2 separate regions of the Homo sapiens genome follow, and region 1 is linked to region 2. The links are contacts of gene promoters, found by promoter capture Hi-C in blood cells and fetal thymus (Javierre and others, 2016). All regions are on one chromosome and are shown on one strand. Each heading gives the region's core, a stretch centred on a gene start or on the middle of the fragment in contact. The rest is flanking DNA. Distances are from core to core; before and after follow the strand shown.

Region 1 (6,420 bases), core at 3,468-5,967, 150 kb after region 2:
TGTCTTTATCAGCGGCGTGAAAATGGACTAATGTAGCTGTTAATAGTCAAGTTCTCAAAATCAATTGTAAAAGCACAGTAAGGAAACTTAGAAAAATTACTGATAATTCTACCTTCTAGATAACCAATTTTGATGCATTTTAAATCTATATTAGATTATCCTACATATAAGAAGATACAAGTTTCATATATTTTATTCACTTAATTATACCAAGAACATTTTTCCGTGTCATTAAAAATCTTGTAAACCATTTTTACGGCTGCGTAAGAATTCATCATATGCATGTACTATAATTTAGGTAATCTCTTATTTTTGGATATTTAAACCATTTCCTTTCTATTATCATTAACATAAATAATACTACCTGCATTTTCTATTATTTCCTTAGAATAAATCCCACAATGAGTAATGCTAAATAAAAGGCATGATCATATTTAATGTAAAGAAAAAATATTGGCCAGGTGTGGTGGCTCACTACTGTAATCCCAGCACTTTGGGAGGCTGAGACTGGTGGAGAGCTTGAGCTAAGGAGTTCGAGACCAGACTGACCAACATGGCAAAACTCCATCTCTACAAAAATACAAAAATTAGCCGGGCTTGGTGGTGCATGCCTGTAGTCCTAACTACTCCGGAGGCTGAAGTGGGAGGATCGCTTGTGCAAGCTGTGAGCCTGCCACTGCATTCCAGCCTGGGTGACACAGCAAGTCCCTGTCTCTTAAAACAAACAAACAAATTTTTAAAAACCCAAAATACAAATACAGTGTCTTTTTTGGGAAAAGCTTAGGATGCCTCTTAAACTATGGAACATACAAAACACAAGTTAGGGCAGAAAAAAATATACATGGCTAATGAAAATGTGGGTATAATTGCTACTGTGGTTTCAGAAACCTGTGTTAAAGATGAATGTGGTGGTCAGATTGCAAGATGTGTTTGTAATATCTGGGCACAGAGGTAGCACAGTTATTGTGCAAAAGAAACTATTCCTCTGAAGCTCTAATTTTAGTGATTCTATGTGAGAACTCTGGCCTGCTTGCTCTTTTGCAATCTTGGTTTGCTTGAGGTGTGTTGAGGGCTGACTGAATGCAAGAGATTTAAAGAATTTGTGTTTCTCACATTCTTTGTTTCAGTTGTAGCTGAGACTGTATCTCTAAGTCATATATCATCAGTTCTACAAAGAATATGCATTGCTTCCAGCCCACTAATTCCCTTTTCTAAAAAAACAAAGAAAAGAAAAGAAAGAAAGAAAGAAAAAGAAGGAAAGAAAGAAAGAAAGAGAAAGAAAAGAAAAGAGAGAAGAAAAACTCAGGCCTGTAATCCCAGCACGTTGGGAGGCCAAGATGGGCAGACAATTTGAAGTCAGGGGTTCGAGAACAGCCTGGCAAACATGGTGAAACCCTGTCTCTACCAAAAATATAAAAATTAGATGGACGTGCTGGTGCACATAAGTAACCCAGCTATCTGGAAGGCTGAGGCACGACAATCTCTTGGACCAAGGAGGCAGAGGTTGCAGTGAGCCACTGCACTCCAGCCTGGCGACAGAACAAGACTCTGTCTCAAAAAAAACCAAACAAATACCCCCCACCCCCAAACTACACAAAAGACAAGAATTTCCAAGAATAAAATCAAGAGATCTGTACTCACAATTTATGACAGTTTCAATTAGAAAAGTCTGGGTTTTATCCTTGTTTTCCTAATATTTTCTTTTCTTTTTCTTTTTTTTTTTAGACAGAGTCTTGCTCTGTCGCCCAGGCTGGAGTGCAGTGGCGTGATCTCAGCTCACTGCAACCTCTGCCTCCCGGATTCAAGCAATCCTCTGCCTCAGCCTCCCAAGTAGCTGGGATTACAGGCGCCCACCACCAGGCCCGGCTAATTTTTGTATTTTTAGTAGAGACAGGGTTTCACCATCTTGGCCAGGCTGGTCTTGAACTTCTGACCTCGTGATCCACGCGCCTCGGCCTCCCAAAGTGCTGGGATTACAGGCATGAGCCACCGCGTCCAGCCTTTCTAATATTTTCTTTAAAACGTCCCCTTTTTCAAAATTTTTTCAAATTCATGGAAAAGAGGATAGGAATTATGGTTAAAATTAGTACTAACTGATGACATTAACCGATTAATAACCAATTATGTTCTTAAAAACTGGAAATGATATACACCACTAGATAAAATAATCTTAAATGTTCATTGACTTTATAGAATTCTCTCAACATTACTTTTTGGTCACAGATAACTTCTGGGTTGACAAAAGCTTTTCTCCAGCGCCATTTCATACAGCTTTTACATGGCTGCACATCACTAGCCTGCTTTAAAGGACGGTGCTCCCAGCCCAAAGCCTCAGGAAAAAGACCATGGCTCAAAAAGCTCTGAGATGTATCCTATCCACCTGAAGAGCCTATTGCTTGCCTGTATCCCTCCCTTCTAGTGACACTAATCTTCTGTACAGAAATCCTAGTCCAGCAAACATTGCTCTCATCTTCGCCCATACACAACCTATGTAAAGAATGGCTTTCCTACTCTTTGCTGGCGAACTTCAGCTCCCGGATTAGGCATGCCACCTCTTCCAGGTAGCTCTCAGCAACGCACTTTTCCATCAGCCTGGGTGTGCCCCTCTGTGTTCCCATGGCGCTTTGCTTTCAGCGCTTCTCCCAAATTATGTTTACCTGTTTATTAGACTCTCCACCTCTGAAGACCAGGCCATTTCATTTGGCTTTTTACTGCCACGTAGTAGGTACCTGTTCAAGCTTGATGGAAGGACTTCCCCAGCCTCCCCACACATATTATGTAAAGTGATCGCTGTCTTTGCTTCCTCCTGGAGACCATTTATTTTATTTTTTTGAGACGGAGTCTCGTTCTGTCGCCCAGGCTGGAGTGCAGTGTCGCAATCTCGACTGACTGCAACCTCTGCCTCTCGAGTAGCTGGGACTACAGGCGCGCGCCACCACGCCCGGCTAATTTTTGTATTTTTAGTAGAGACGGGGTTTCACCATGTTGGCCAGGCTGGCCTCGAACTTCTGACAGCAAGTGATCCACCTACCGCGGCCTTTCAAAGTGCTGAAACTACAGGCATGAGCCTCCACACCCGTCCAGGAGCCCATTTATATGGGAGCCTGCTTCTAAAGATTATTACCTGGTGCCAGGGTATTTTCCAGACCTGTCCTCACATTCCTGTTAAACAGGAGGAAGTGAATCGCGCTCCTTTTCATCTACCTTCTCGGAGGGTTTATGCCTCCAATATTAACCTCAGCACAGCCAAAGAAAATCATTCCATTCCATTGAGCGGAGTCAGAAACATGACTAGGTCACGATCACAACCCCGTGTGTGCCAGGGTGACCGAGACTGGGTGACTTTATGGTGTTTCAACGTGTGGGTTTTGACTGATTATATTATGGGTTTTCCAGTCAAAAACTCAAAGCAGTGGATAAAGCACTTGCGACCTAAAATAAGCAATGGAATGAACAGGAAGGCGAAACCAGAGTTTAAAGCGGCAGGACAAACAGGAAAAAGGAAGAGTGAGGCAGGAAGGGTTTAAATGCAGGCTCCTCGGAGGACAAGTCGCCGCCACACCCCTGTCTGCCGTCCCGCCAGCCGCCCTCACGCGGCGCGGGAAAACGGTCGGCCTCGCCCTGGGCTCAGGTTCTCTCCGCCCGCCAGGCAGTGGGGTTTTTTTTTGTTTTTTTTGAGACGGAGTCTCGCTCAGTCGCCCAGGCTGGAGTGTAGTGGCGTGATCTCGGCTCACTGCAACCTCCACCTCCCGGGTTCAAGCGATTCTCCTGCCTCAGCCTCCCGAGTAGCTGAGACTACAGGCACGCGCCACCACGCCCAGCTAATTTTTGTATCTTTAGTAGAGACGGGCTTTCACCATGTTGGCCAGGATGGTCTCGATGTCTTAACGTCGTGATCCGGCCGCCTCGGCCTCCCAAGTGCTGGGATTACAGGCGTTAGCCACTGCGCCCGGCCCCAGCCAGGCAGTTTTAATCGAGCGCTCACAACCACTGAGACGCAGTGAAGCACCCACCATAAAATCCCAGGAGGCCGACCGCCGGTTCAGACTTTTTCTTTTCTTTAATCCCCGTCCAAGGGATCCGCCCTCACCCCCCACCCCAGCCACCCCAATTCCCTATTCCCTCCCCTTGGACGGCGCCGGGGAAAACAAGCTGCTCGAGCTTTATTTCTTCGGTGCAACCAACTCAGAATGAATTCCTCCGCCCCTGCGTGCTCAGTGAGTCGGCACCCTAGCAGTGAACTGCATTTAAAACCTCAGGAATTGAGCGAACTCTCCCAGTGGCTCTCCTCACCGGGATCCCCTTCCACGCCTCCTCCCCGTGCCGCGCCTCAGTCCGCACTGCTCATTGGCCGCGTGCCCTGCCAATCCGATGCACGTCGGCTAGGGCAAAGACCGCGAAAAAGCGCGTACACCTGGCTCTGGGAGCGCGCGCCTAACGCCAGCCAGCAGCAGGAGGCGCGCGAGGCACCACGGCCTGGCGGCCGAGAGTCAGGGAGGAACCTCATTTACATAACGGCCGCCCCTCTGTCTCCTGGCGGGGGCCGGAGTCCCGCCCCTCGTCCAACTTGAAATCTGTTGGGTCACGGGCCAGTCACTCCGACCTAGGCAAGCCTGTGGTGGAGCTGGAAGAGTTTGTGAGGGCGGTCCCGGGAGCGGATTGGGTCTGGGAGTTCCCAGAGGCGGCTATAAGAACCGGGAACTGGGCGCGGGGAGCTGAGTTGCTGGTAGTGCCCGTGGTGCTTGGTTCGAGGTGGCCGTTAGTTGACTCCGCGGAGTTCATCTCCCTGGTTTTCCCGTCCTAACGTCGCTCGCCTTTCAGTCAGGATGTCTGCCCGTGGCCCGGCTATCGGCATCGACCTGGGCACCACCTATTCGTGCGTCGGGGTCTTCCAACATGGCAAGGTGGAGATCATCGCCAACGACCAGGGCAATCGCACCACCCCCAGCTACGTGGCCTTCACGGACACCGAGCGCCTCATCGGCGACGCCGCCAAGAACCAGGTGGCCATGAACCCCACCAACACCATCTTCGACGCCAAGAGGCTGATTGGACGGAAATTCGAGGATGCCACAGTGCAGTCGGATATGAAACACTGGCCGTTCCGGGTGGTGAGCGAGGGAGGCAAGCCCAAAGTGCAAGTAGAGTACAAGGGGGAGACCAAGACCTTCTTCCCAGAGGAGATATCCTCCATGGTCCTCACGAAGATGAAGGAGATCGCGGAAGCCTACCTGGGGGGCAAGGTGCACAGCGCGGTCATAACGGTCCCGGCCTATTTCAACGACTCGCAGCGCCAGGCCACCAAGGACGCAGGCACCATCACGGGGCTCAATGTGCTGCGCATCATCAACGAGCCCACGGCGGCGGCCATCGCCTACGGCCTGGACAAGAAGGGCTGCGCGGGCGGCGAGAAGAACGTGCTCATCTTTGACCTGGGCGGTGGCACTTTCGACGTGTCCATCCTGACCATCGAGGATGGCATCTTCGAGGTGAAGTCCACGGCCGGCGACACCCACCTGGGCGGTGAGGACTTCGACAACCGCATGGTGAGCCACCTGGCGGAGGAGTTCAAGCGCAAGCACAAGAAGGACATTGGGCCCAACAAGCGCGCCGTGAGGCGGCTGCGCACCGCTTGCGAGCGCGCCAAGCGCACCCTGAGCTCGTCCACGCAGGCGAGCATCGAGATCGACTCGCTCTACGAGGGCGTGGACTTCTATACGTCCATCACGCGCGCCCGCTTCGAGGAGCTCAATGCCGACCTCTTTCGCGGGACCCTGGAGCCGGTGGAGAAGGCGCTGCGCGACGCCAAGCTGGACAAGGGCCAGATCCAGGAGATCGTGCTGGTGGGCGGCTCCACTCGTATCCCCAAGATCCAGAAGCTGCTGCAGGATTTCTTCAACGGCAAGGAGCTGAACAAGAGCATCAACCCCGACGAGGCGGTGGCCTATGGCGCCGCGGTGCAGGCGGCCATCCTCATCGGCGACAAATCAGAGAATGTGCAGGACCTGCTGCTACTCGACGTGACCCCGTTGTCGCTGGGCATCGAGACAGCTGGCGGTGTCATGACCCCACTCATCAAGAGGAACACCACGATCCCCACCAAGCAGACGCAGACCTTCACCACCTACTCGGACAACCAGAGCAGCGTACTGGTGCAGGTATACGAGGGCGAACGGGCCATGACCAAGGACAATAACCTGCTGGGCAAGTTCGACCTGACCGGGATTCCCCCTGCGCCTCGCGGGGTCCCCCAAATCGAGGTTACCTTCGACATTGACGCCAATGGCATCCTTAACGTTACCGCCGCCGACAAGAGCACCGGTAAGGAAAACAAAATCACCATCACCAATGACAAAGGTCGTCTGAGCAAGGACGACATTGACCGGATGGTGCAGGAGGCGGAGCGGTACAAATCGGAAG
Region 2 (7,286 bases), core at 3,412-5,911:
TCTCTACAGGAAAATTTTTTAATTAATCAGGGGTGGTGGCATGTGCCTATAGTCCCAACTACTCAGAAGGATCACTTTAGCCCAGGAGTTCAGGGTTGCAGTGAGCTGATTGTGTTACTGCACTCCAGCCTGGGTGACAGAGTAAAATCCTGTCCAAAAAAAAAAAATCCTGGAAGTGGAATTACAATGTCAAAGAAAATACAAATTTAAAATTTTCGGGCCAGGTATGGTGGTTCACACCTGTACCAATCCCAGCACTTTGGGAGGCCAAGGAAGGCAGATCACGAGGTCAAGATTGAGACCATCCTGGCCAACATGGTGAAACCCCGTCTCTACTAAAAATACAAAAATTAGCTGGGTGTGGTGGCGCCCACCTGTAGTCCCAGCTACTTGGGAGGCTGAGGCAGAAGAATTGCTTGAACCTGGGAGGCGGAGGTTTCAGTGAGCCGAGATCATGCCACTGCACTCCAGCCTGGTGACAGAGCGACTCAAAAAAAAAAACATTTTTTTTCCCGTAGATATTATCATATCAAATTACCCCTGAAAAAGGTTGTAAAAACGGGGCCTCTGCAAAAAGTAAACATTTTTTCTAGCAACTGCCTTTATAAGCATTTAAATAAAAATATTTTTTCCTTCTATTTGCTGTGAAAGGTTGATTTTCATTCTTTATTTGACCAATTTGCAACACTTGACAGAATTAATTACCTCTTTTTCCATGAAACACATTCTTCACTTGTCTTGTTTTTTTTTTTGTTTGTTTACTTGTTTGTTTTTGAGACAGAGTCTCACTCTGTTGCTCAGGCTGGAGTGCAGTGGCACTATCTCGGCTCACTGCAAACTCTGCCCCCTGAGTTCAAGCAGTTCTCCTGCCTCAGCCTCCCTAGTAGCTGGGATTACAGGCACGCGCTACCACACCTGGCTAATTTTTGTATTTTTATAGAGACGGAGGTTTCGCCATGTTTGTCAGGCTGGTCTAGAACTCCTGACCTCAAGTGATCCACCCACCTTGGCCTCCCAAAGTGCTGGGATTACAGGCATGAGACACCATGCCAGGCCTCCTCACTTGTATTCTAAGGTGGGATGCTCTTGGGGTTTTCCTTAGAACACACTGGACTCTCCTTTCCTTTTAAGAGACAGGGTCTTGCTCTGTTGCCTAGGTTGGAGTGCAGTGTGATGATTATAGCTTACTGAAGTTTCCAACTCCTAGGCTCACAGGATCCTCCCACCTCAGCCTTCTGAGTAACTGGGACTACAGGTACATGCCACCACGCCCAGCTAACTTTTTAAATTTTTATTTATTTATTTATTTTGAGATGGAGTCTCGCTCTGTCTCCCAGGCTGGAGTGCAGTGGCGTGATCTCGGCTCACTGCAACCTCTGCCTCCTAGGTTCAAGGGATTCTCCTGCCTCGGCCTCCCGAGTAGCTGGGATTACAGGTGCCAGCCATCACGCCCAGCTAATTTTTGTATTTTTAGTAGAGACGGGGTTTCACTGTGTTGGCCAAGTTGGTCTCAAACTCCTGACCTCAGCTGATCCACCCACCTCGGCCTCCAAAATGCTCGGATTACAGGCAAATTTTTTAATTTTTATTTTTGTAGAGACAGGGTCTTGCTATGTTGCTAAGGCTGTTCTACAAACTCCTGGATTCAAGTGATCTTCCTGTATTTGGTCTCCCAAAGTGCTGGGATTAGTAAAGGTGTAGCCACAGCTCCCAGCTGGACTCTCCTTTTCAATCTTCCCTCTTGGTTCCTCCTGTCTCCTTGCATTCTGAACACTGAAAGGTTCTAGGTGTCAGTCTTTGGTCCTCTCTCTACCTACAATACCCTTGGTTGGATCTCATTCAATCCCATGGATTTAAATATCTTCTCTCCATTTGGATGTCTAAGAGAAATCTAAAAATGTCTAAAGCCGAATTCATAATCTTAACCCCAAAACCTAGTCCTACATTTTACTTTATTTCAACTCAGCGAATGGCAATTCCATCTTTCCAGTTGCTCAGAGCAAATCCCTGCTTTCTTTCTTTTACATTCCAAGTTCCTCTCTTCATTAAGGTTTCTGCTGAAGTCAGATGCCCAAAGAAATCTCTTACCACATTTCTGAGACAAAACTTTCCCACCTCCCAGCATCACTGCCTATCCTCTTAGCTTGCCTATTTTTAAAATATAGCATGTCATAATCTCTAAAATTAGCCTATGTATTTCTTTAACTTGATCGTTGTCTCCTCCACCAGAATATGAGCTGAGAGCAGAAACTTTGCTGGTTCACTAGGGTATCTCTAGCATCTATAGCAGTGCTGTTGGCATAGTGGCCACTCAATAATTATTTGCTCCATGAATGAACGATTTATGCAACTCATACATAGATAACTGTCAAAAACCAGGCTGTTGAGATGGCAAAGGCAGTAGATTTAGAGAAGAAACATCAGGTTTGGGGCCTATACCAGCCACAGCTATGCAGCTTTGGGTATTATCCTTCAAAGTCTATCCCTCTGTAAAACGGGATTTCTGCCATCTTCCTCAACAAATAAGAAAGCTGGAATAGTCAATACCTATTTGATAGTATAAGACAAAAGATTCACTATCTGCAATTTACCAGAAACATTTCCTTCAATTTTCTTCTTAATTTCACTTGTTTAGGTACAACACAATATGAGACAATGTGTTTTAGGGTTATTATTATAATGACATTATATTACTAAGTCTGTGCCTTTAACATATCACTTGTGCAAACTTTAAGAATAGTAACTTTAAGGCCACGCACGGTGGCTCATGCCCATTATCCCAGCATTTTGGGAGGCCAAGGGAGACTAATCCCTTGAGATCTAGACCAGTCTGGTCAACATAGTGAAACCCCAACTCTACCAAAAATAGAAAAATTAGCCGGCGTGGTGGCATGCACCTGTGGTCCAAGCTACTCGGGGGGCTGAGGTGGGAGGATCATTTGAACCCGGGAGGCAGAGGCTACAAAGAGCGGAGATCATGCCACTGCACTCCACCCTGAGCGACATAGCGAGACTCCGTCTCAAAAACAAAAAAACATATATTAGAAATAATTACCAGAAATAGAAAATCACAAGAGATTATCTAATCCCGTATATGGGGCTACTATAAATAACCTCAGAATTTAGAAATAAGAAAAAAATATTAAAAGCCCCAAAATTAATAAAAAATCAGTTTTAGGCCAGGTGCGGTGGCTCACGCCTGTAATCCCAGCACTCTGGGAGGCCGAGGCGGGTGGATCACGAGGTCAGGAGTTCAAGACCAGCCTAGCCAAGATGGTGAAACCCCGTCTCTACTAAAAATACAAAAATTAGCCGGGCGTGGTGGCGGGCTAATTAGGTGGTGCCTGTAATCCCAGCTACTCGGGAGGCTGAGGCAGAGAACTGCTTGAACCCGGGAAGCGGAGGTTGCAGTGAGCCAAAATCGTGCCACTGCACTCCAGCCTGGGCGACAGAATGAGACTCCGTCTCAAACAAACAAACAAAAAAAGTTTTAGATGAGCTCTGCCAGTAGTAAACGGCTTGTAAAAGAAACCCGGTATCTGGTCAAGTCCTAAGTGACCTGAACCACGCATCTTCAGGACTCTACTGGGATGACTGTAACCTGAACGCGGTTCCTAGAGCAGAGCAAGCATATTCCTTGGACTCAGTAACACAAGGGGCCAGTCCTCTCCAGCATCCCAGCTGCCACCGCCCTGTCAGGCTCCCCAGGCAATTGTCCATCTTACTCCTTCTCCAGCGTGGACGCTTAAGGGGAGGGAGCATCCCTCCTCGAGGGTCAACTGGCATGTAGCTTACGAAGACCGCGTGAGTTCTCCAACCCCAGACTTGCTGCGGGGCGGGGACGTGGGGGTGACAAAATCCAGACTACGACCCTCCATGAGCCCTGGCAACCCCGGGGTGACCCCAACACCGATGAGGCCACGCGCGCTCCAGCTCTGACACTCCTTCCAGATCGGCGGGGCCTGAAACAGCGGGCTAAGCTTCACCTACGGCTGAGCGTCAGATTCAGCTGAGGAGATTCTAAAAGCGCTATGCTGGGCCCAGACCCAGGCCCTCCAGAGCAGAACGCGGAGGGGCCCGACCCCAGTCTGGTGGCGTAGGTGTGTGACAAAGTATGAGGGCGCGCCAAGCTCTCCAGTTCCACATCTGCTGTCGAGTCCAGCGCCTGCCACGCTCCCGTGCGGGGACCCGCCCAAAACTCCCTGGAAGCCAGGCGATTCAGACCCCGCCACCGCGTCCCCAGAGACTGGGCGGAAACCGGAGACTCGCCTCCCGAACCCGCGAAACTATCTCCCGCGAGACTGCCCCGCCCCAACCCCGCCCCGCAACTCTACTCCCTGATTGGCTGGAATTACGGCCGGATTCCGGAGTCCTTTCCAGCTCCCTCTTCGGCCGGGTTTCCCGCCGAATACAAAGGCGCACTGTGAACTGGCTCTTTCTTTCCGCCAATCATTTCCGCCAGCCATTCATCACCGATTTTCTTCATCTTCCCCTCCCTCTTCCGTCCCGCAGTCCCCGACCTGTTAGCTCTCGGTTAGTTAAGGGACTCGGGTCCTTCCGAACTGCGCATGCGCCACCGCGTCTGCAGGGGGAGAAGCGGGCAGGGGCGCAGGCGCAGTAGTGTGATCCCCTGGCCAGTCCCTAAGCACGTGGGTTGGGTTGTCCTGCTTGGCTGCGGAGGGAGTGGAACCTCGATATTGGTGGTGTCCATCGTGGGCAGCGGACTAATAAAGGCCATGGCGCCAGCAGAAATCCTGAACGGGAAGGAGATCTCCGCGTAAGCACCTGACATTGTTGTTGAGTGTGGGGCTGTGGACGAGGGCTCTGAGGGTGTGCAGGTCCCCCGGACCCATTTTTTGCGGGAGGGACACTTGTAGCGGAAGAGTTAGGCCCATAACACCTGAAGACCTGCAGCCAAAGAAAGAGAACCCGGGCACAACCTGCGTTTGCAAGTGGACTGCCTAGTGGCTGTAGCCGCTGGCTCCTGTGCTTCGGGGAAAAGTCCTGTGCCGACTATGCTCCCAAACGCGCAGCTGCTGGTGACTTTCTGCCGGGAGAGTGGGTAGTTGCGGCTTCCTGGAGCCCCCCTAGTCAGAACTCAGAAATCCAATCTACTTAATTCCCGTTAATTTGGAGGTGAGTAGATGGAGACTAGTGAGGTGACAAGGCTTGACAAGACTACAAGGCTGATAATGACAGAGGGTCCTTCCAGCTCATAGCTTTTCCCACTATACCATAGTCTTATCATACGCTAAGTGAAATCTAATACATTTTTCCTTTCTCTTCAATCTCGTGCTTCTCTCTAACAGCCATCTCTCTGCCCTGGTCCTAGAGTTACTTGAAACGTAATTTGGCTCCTGAGTCCTGAGAATATTCTGCATTCCACTTGACCTCTGCCTGTTCTACCCTTGCGGGACATCTGAATGCTTAATTAGTGGGTATCGTTGCCAGCTTTACTCCCAGGAAGTAACACTGGCTGCTTTTTGTCTGGGAGGTGACTGGTGAGGAAAAATGAGAGTAGAAGGAAGAGGGAAAAATATATTCCCTCTAGTAGATGAAGGAGGGAAAGATATATTCTGTGTGACCTTACTGAGTTTGCTCTTGGGACCTTTCACATCACCCGTTATGTAAGTAACTGTTGCCAGCCACAGCAGTTACTAAATTGTAATTGTCCTGTAACTCCTAACTTTGTAATAGGTTTTTGAGTGAATTACAAAGTCATCGGTGGTGAAAAGTCCGGGCCCAGTGGCTCATGCCTGTAATCCCAGCACTTTGGGAGGCCGAGGTGGGTGGATCACCTGAGGTCTGGAGTTCAAGACCAGCCTATCCAAAATGGTGAAACCCCATCTCTACTAAAAATACAAAAAATTAGCCGAGTGTGGTGGCAGGCATCTGTAATCCCAGCTACTTGGGAGGCTGAGGCAGGAGAATCACTTGAACCTGGGGGGCAGAGGTTGCAGTGAGCTGAGATGCGCCATTGCACTCCAGCCTGGGCAACAAGAGCGAAACTCCGTCTAAGAAAAAAAAAAAAAGAAATCACAATACTTACTGCTTAGTGCTTTTCAACATGTGGCTTGCTAAACTGTATTTCTGCTTTACTTTCTGTTTTTGTTTGCTTGTATTCAAACTTACTTCCTTTTCCAGTGGCTTTTTGTTTTAATATAAAAATCTTCCTTTTAGAAAGACTGATTGTGAAGAGATAATTTAGTGCATAATAATAGTGCAGATAATTTAGTACAATAATAATGCATCTGGGCCAGTACTGAGAATAGGTGCTCACTGAATATACTTTCGTTAATTGGAGAGCAAATTAAATATGTTTATCAACTCCATAAGGGCAAATACATGTATTGTCTTATTTTTGTCTATATCCTAAACACCTGGAAACCCTGTTTCCTGCCTTACTACTTGTGTGGTTTTAAGCAAATTAATTAACCTTTCTGTGCCAAAGTTTCCTCAAATGTTAAGTAAAAGTAATGTCTAGGTCATTGGGATGTTAGTAGAATTAAATGGGTTCCTAACAGATGATCATTTATAATTCTTCCTGGCACATAATAAGTATTCGATATATGTTGTATTAATAATCAGTAATTAGTTAATGTATATATGAATGATTCATTATCTTTTTTTTTTTTTACATGGTAGCTGCTGCCTTGAGATCTATTTTTTTTTTTGAGATGAAGTCTTGCTGTGTCCAATCTTGGCTCACTGCAACCTCTGCCTCCTGCATACAAGCAATTCTCTCATATCAGCCTCCTGAGTACCTGGGATTACAGGTGCCCGCCATCACGCCTAGCTAATTTTTTTTTTTGAGATGGAGTTTCACTCGTCGCCCAGACTGGAGTACAATGGCGTGATCTCGGCTCACTGCAACCTCTGCCTCCTGGGTTCAAGCGATTCTCCTGCCTCAGCCTCCCAAGTAGCTGGGATTACAGGCGTCCGCCACCATGTCCAGCTAGTTTGTTTGTTTGTTTGAGACAGAGTTTCACTCTTGTTGCCCAGGCTGGAGTGCAATGGCATGATCTTGGCTCACTGCAACCTCCACCTCCCAGGTTCAAGCGATTCTCCTGCCTCAGCCTCCCGAGTAGCTGAGACTACAGGTGTGTGCCACCCCGTCCGGCTAATTTTTGTATTTTTAGTAGAGACGGGCTTTCACCATGTTGGTCAGGCTGGTCTGTAACTCCTGACCCCATGTGATCCACCCACCTCGGCCTCCCAAAGTGCTGGGATTACAGGCATGAGCCACTGCACCGGTCCTAGAATTTCTTAAAAATCCAGCCCACTTC

What was found. Contacts are between HindIII fragments. The CHiCAGO score rates a contact against its expected background, and 5 or more counts as called.
Region 1: a contact is called between the fragment with the promoter of HSPA2 here and the fragment with the promoter of MTHFD1 in region 2, in 2 of 17 cell types (monocytes and naive CD4 T cells). The highest score is 5.0, in monocytes.

Annotation. Positions count from the first base shown.
Region 1 is chr14:64,536,024-64,542,443 of GRCh38, forward strand. HSPA2 (heat shock protein family A (Hsp70) member 2) reads left to right here and starts at 4,718. Exons shown (of 1, transcript NM_021979.4): 1 at 4,718-6,420. The coding sequence starts at 4,827. It overlaps HSPA2-AS1 (HSPA2 and ZBTB1 antisense RNA 1), which reads right to left and starts at 4,345. Exons shown (of 4, transcript NR_110550.1): 1 at 4,294-4,345. RefSeq lists a silencer at 4,493-4,582 and an enhancer at 4,753-4,862. The HindIII fragment of the contact is 4,009 bases long and covers 2,737-6,420 here.
Region 2 is chr14:64,383,692-64,390,977 of GRCh38, forward strand. It overlaps MTHFD1 (methylenetetrahydrofolate dehydrogenase, cyclohydrolase and formyltetrahydrofolate synthetase 1), which reads left to right and starts at 4,662. Exons shown (of 28, transcript NM_005956.4): 1 at 4,662-4,777. The coding sequence starts at 4,737. RefSeq lists enhancers at 3,725-3,824, 3,845-3,904, 4,425-4,514. The HindIII fragment of the contact is 3,471 bases long and covers 3,979-7,286 here.